Regions from separate parts of the Homo sapiens genome. Here region 1 is linked to region 2. Evidence: promoter capture Hi-C in 16 types of primary human blood cells and fetal thymus (Javierre and others, 2016). All regions are on one chromosome and are shown on one strand. The core of a region is centred on a gene start or on the middle of the fragment in contact, and the rest is flanking DNA. Distances in the headings are between cores, read along the strand shown.

What was found. Contacts are between HindIII fragments. The CHiCAGO score rates a contact against its expected background, and 5 or more counts as called.
Region 1: a contact is called between a fragment that was not itself captured here and the fragment with the promoter of PEX16 in region 2, in 1 of 17 cell types (neutrophils). The highest score is 5.2, in neutrophils.

The regions. Positions count from the first base shown.
Region 1 is chr11:46,598,062-46,600,761 of GRCh38, forward strand. No RefSeq gene overlaps it. Among named protein-coding and RNA genes, the nearest start is that of AMBRA1, 5.4 kb to the left of the region's middle. The HindIII fragment of the contact is 5,019 bases long and covers 1-2,700 here.
Region 2 is chr11:45,916,464-45,919,163 of GRCh38, forward strand. It overlaps PEX16 (peroxisomal biogenesis factor 16), which reads right to left and starts at 1,414. Exons shown (of 11, transcript NM_004813.4): 1 at 1,237-1,414; 2 at 995-1,030. The coding sequence starts at 1,348. RefSeq lists enhancers at 470-1,222, 1,169-1,238. The HindIII fragment of the contact is 21,028 bases long and covers 1-2,700 here.

The sequences.
Region 1 (2,700 bases), core at 63-2,562, 680 kb after region 2:
AGAACAGCAGGGAACTGCTAGCCGTAGAATGATAGAAGGCTCTCCCTTCTTTGGAATTATTTCTATAAGATAAATCTCCAGTGATGAAATTTATCAATAGATCAAAATGTATGAATATTTTAAGGCTCTAGAATGACAAAGAAATCAGCCCATCTGTAAAAGACAGCATAAAGATTAGAGAAAGTTAACATGTCAACAGAATAATAGATCCTTAATGTTTTGCTGGGCAAACAGGGAGGCCCCTTTTTGAAATTTGCTAATTTATGATTTCAAAGTCTAATCTCCTTTCTCCTGTTCAGTATCCAGAGATCTAATTTCTTCTACTTTACAATCACAAGAGGCCTTCAGTTGTAGTCATTTTTTTTTCTCTTTTTTTTTTTTTGGAGTTTTGCTCTTGTTGCTGGAGTTGCAATGACAGGATCTCAGCTCACTGCAATCTCTGCCTCCCAGGTTTAAGTGATTCTCCTGCCTCAGCCTCCCTAGTAACTGGGATGACAGGCGCCCGCCACCATGCCCAGCTAATTTTTGTACTTTTAGTAGAGACGGGGTTTCACCATGTTGGCCAGGATGGTCTCGATCTCTTGACCTTGTGATCTGCCTACCTCGGCCTCCCAAAGTGCTGGGATTACAGGCGTGAGCCACTGTGCCCAGCCTGTAGTCATGTTAAAAAAAAAGTTTAGGCTGGGCACGGTACTTTATGCCTGTAATCCCTATAATCTCAGAGCGCTTCGAGAGGCCAAGGCAGGAGGATTGCTTGAGGCCAGGAATTCAAGACCAGCCTGAGCAACATAGTCAGACCCTGTCTGTACCAAAAAAAAATTAGCCAGGCATGGTAGTGTACACTTCTAGTCCTAGCTACTTGGGAGGCTGAGGTGGGAGGATCACTTGAGCCCAAGAGTTCAAGGCTGTAATAAGCTACAATCACACCACTGCACTCCAGCCTGGGTGACAGAGTGAGACCCTGTCTCTACAAAAGTTAATTTAAAAAAATTCAGGGCCGGGTGCAGTGGCTCACGCCTGTAATCCCAGCACTTTAAGAGGCCGAGGCGGACGGATCACAAGGTCAGGAGATCGAGACCATCCTGGCCAACATGGTGAAACCCTGTCTCTACTAAAAATACAAAAATAAGCTGGGCACAGTGGCACGTGCCTGTAATCCTAGCTACCCGGGAAGCTGAGGCAGGAGAATAGCTTGAACCAGGGAGGCGGAGGTTGCAGTGAGCCGAGATCGTGCCACTGCACTCCAGCCTGGGTGACAGAGTGAGACTCCATCTCAAAAAAAAAAAAAAAAAAAAAAAAAAAAATTCAGGGCCGGGCACAGGGGCATGCAATCCCAGCACTTTTAGGAGGCCAAGGCAGGCAGATCAATTGAATCCAGGATTTCGAGACCAGGTTGGGCAACTTAGCAAAACCCCATTGCTACAAAAAAAAAAAAAAAGAATTAACTGGGTATGGTGGTGTGTGCCTGTAGTCCCAGCTACTCGGAAGACTGACGTCAGAGGATCACTTGAGCCTGGAAGGTGGAGGCTGCAGTAAGCCGAGATCACTCCACTGTACTGCTCTAGCCTTGGCAACAGAGCAAGACCCTGTCTCAAAAAAAAAAAAAAAAAGGTTTTTTTTAGAACAAGGATTTCTGTGTGATTAAAAAAAAAGTCTATTAATTTTATGTGTTGGGAAACTAGCATGTCCCCAGCCTTCAGCTAGTATTTTTCCTTCCTTTCCACATAATCAACAAAGTCTTAATCCTGAATCTGTGATTTCTCATACCCACAACAATTTTGGAAAATCTTGGCAGGATCTAGAGAGCAAAATGGGCCCTGAGGACATGTGTATGCACAAAAACCCTTTCATTTCTTATTTTCTTGTCCTCCTTCTAACTTCCCCTCCACTGCCAGGGAAAGTAACTACGAAGCTCAGTCTTTGGGCTATTTTCCGTTTGTTTCAGATACAGATAAAATCTTATTATATCTATGATCTGTCTAGCCTCTTTCACCGTTACCCACTTCTTCTATGTCTTCACTACATGACTCCACTAAAATTGTGTCTTGTTTTTTATCCCTAAGTTAGATTAACTTGGTCTAGATCCTTCACAGTCCTAGGATCAGGAAAACAGCTTCATCCCTATTCAGTTAACTTAAACCAAGAATATGTTTATGGTCCCTCTTTTGTATAATCTGGAATTGGTAAATTGGTGATCACCCAATATTGTTTTCCCTTGATATATCCTGAGACCTTACTGCCTTGAAACATCTAAGGGTAAATCTGGAAAACTACTATGCTGGCCAGATGGAGTTATCTATGGGAAAATGAGGCTTACGTAAGACAGACAAAATCCTTGACTCTTTCCCAAAACCATGCCAGAAAAAAGCTATAAATCCACACTAAGGACCACAAAGGGAGCAGCTTTCTCAGACGCTTATAAAAAGCCCCTGTGAGGACACCCTTGGCAATTTGGAAGTACAGACCCTGATCCTTCCCCTCCATCATTTTGGGGAAATAACTAACCAATGACAAAAGAAAAAAAAAAATCCTGGCCTGCAAAACCACAGGTTGAAAGGAGGTTAAAGGTGTAGATCTGAAGAGTTTCCCTGTGGGATTATTAGAAAATAAAATGCTCCCAGGGAAAAACACTGTCAGCCAATGTTCAGCCAGCTCAGCACTTAGATTATCTTTGGTGTGCAAGTAAACAGACTTGAAATT
Region 2 (2,700 bases), core at 164-2,663:
CTCTCCCCAACATGATCTCACAAGGGTGGCTGGACCAAGAAAGGATGGGTCAATCTCAGTGACAAGCCAGTTACTGCCCTGCTGGATGGCACTGGTCATCCAGCTGCCCACAACTGCCCATCGCTCTCTGAACTGCCACAGATACACGGTCCCACCTCCTGGCCCTTTCTCTCTTGGCAGCCTGTTCCTGAGGGTCTATTCCACCTCCACTTTTCTTTTTTCTGAGTCGGAGTTTCACTCTTGTTGCCCAGGCTGGAGTGCAATGGCACAATCTCGGCTCACTGCAACCTCTGCCTCCCAGGTTCAAGCAATTCTCCTGCCTCAGCCTCTCAAGTAGCTGGGACTACAGGCACCTGCTACCATGCCCAGCTAATTTTTGTATTTTTAGTAGAGATGGGGTTTCACCATGTTGGCCAGGCTGGTCTCGAACTCCTGACCTCACGTGATCCACCTGCCTCTGCCTCCCAAAGTGCTGGGATTACAAGTGTGAGCCACTGCACCTGGCCTCACCTCTGCTTTTCAAAACCCAGTGCATTCTTTCAGGACTGTGACAGCAGTCACTGGGCAAACACTCTTGAGGTAGTTACAATCTGGGAATCCTGGAATCTGGGAGATCTAGACTTGAATCTTGGTTCTGGGACCATCAGTGACTGTTCTCTAACCTCACTGAGCTTCTTCCTTAAATGGACAGTGATGACAATAAGTACCACTTAATATGACTGTAGGGAGGATTAACAAGTAAAGGTAAGAAAGGCACTTAGTCCAGCGCCTGGCCAGTAGTGAATACTCAGATAAGGTCCCCAGACGTGTCTCTTGACTTAGGGACATGGAGGGCCCAGGACAATGAACAACAGACCTTGTGCCGATTCAGTCATAGCACAAGGTGTCTAACGGGCAGCCCAGGTCCTCGGGCTGGGGTGCTCACCCTCTCTGGGGAACTCACCAGGGGCCAGGCAGCCGATCCCCCATCCCCCACCCCCAGAGCCCGGCTCACCCAGCTCTGACAGCTCGTGCGAATCGGCGAATCGACCTGGGGAGAGGGTACAGAAGGAGGTGTGAGTGAGCATCTGCCTCACATTTCGTCTTCGGGTCCCGGAAATCCCCTCCCTACGCCCTTTGGGAACCTGGACGGGTCTTCTCAAGCACAGCGATCACTACCCTGACTCCGCAGGGAAGGGGGCCACTGGGGTCATAGGTCAGGGCCCAGAAGGAACTGATCAAAGGTCAGGGTGGCACCTGCCAGCAGGTAACTGAAGCCCCGCACTGCTGTCTCCAGCTGGGCCGTGGCGGCCGGGTGACGAGTCACGTACTCCTGGTAGCGGAGGCCCAGGAGCCGCAGCTTCTCCATCCTGCCCTCGGCACCGACAGACCCACAGAAGGACCGTACGACAGGCTGCGGCGCCCTGCTTCCTGCGCCCTCCTTCCTGCTTCCGGTCTTAGGCCCGCCTCTTGGTTGCTTAACTTCCGCGGGCCAGAAGGCTGAGGACTTGAAGAACCGGTGAACCACCCTTCACCCCATCTCTTGAACCGCTTCCCACTCGGGTAGCCCTTAGCAACTGAGGGCCCAAACCCGGCCCCCTACTCCCTCAAGTCATTGGTTAGCACGCTCTCCGCCCCTGACCCGCCCAGCGCCGTCAGCACCCAGCTCTTCCGTTTACCGGGTTGGCTGCCCTTGCGCCTGCGCAGTTAAAGCTCCGGTAAAGCCGGGCGGCAGTCAGAGCAGTTCATTCTAGAGAAGGGAGCTGGAGCCCCGAGTCTTTCCAATGGAACGCCGAGAGACTCGAACGGCAGGGCCGGATTTTAAAGGGCTGAGAGATAGCGGGTGCTTGAAAAAAGGAGCCTCGATCAGATTTGGGGAGGTGCGGGGCGTCTAAATACAGTTGCACTGTGTCTCAGCAGGCGCGCGTTCGGCCAGTATCCCCATCTCCGTTTCCTCAACAAAGGTAGTGCTGGGGAAACTGAGGCAGTAAGGAGTCCAGCCCTCTAGTGCCGTCTCGATCCCCTAGACAGCACAGTTAGTGCTCCGGCTTCGGCCTCAGCTCCCGTATGGACTGTGCCCCCCAAAGGGCTCGCGCCTGCATTCCCACATACGCGAAGAAAGCCCTGGCCCGGGCTTCTCTCGGCTCGGTGGCCCTTGGGCGGGAGTATCCCTTCTCTGGGTCTCGGATTTCCCGATCTGTAAAATGGTTTGAGGGCAGACTTGATCCTTGAACTCAGAATCGATCTCAGCTTTCTGGCCCTCGGACGCACCTCGCAGTCCTCAGCTGCGCCCCCAAGGGAAGGGGAGACCCCTGGGGAGTATCTTCCCAAACCAAGCAGCCTCCCTGGAACGGGTGGCACCGGGAGATCTGCGGCGAGTGGTGGAGGGAACGGGCGCTCTGGGGAGGTAGCGCTGATTGGCTGCGGGGAAAGGGGCGTGACATGGGTGGAGCCGTGGGCCAGTGGCCTGAGGGAGCGGGCCAGCGGATTTATGGTACCCTGAGAATAGTAATACATTATTTTACCTAATCCTCTCCACCAGATATCTCCAGATGAAGAAAGCATCCTTTTAAGAACGCCCAGCCAAAATTTGAGTGTTGGTCTTTTCTGACCTCAGAGACTAGGCGGTTTTTTTTAATTCATTTTTTTTAACTTTAATTTTATTTTTAGAGACCAGGTCTAAGCATCACACCTCACCAGGAAACCACAACCTTCCTTCCA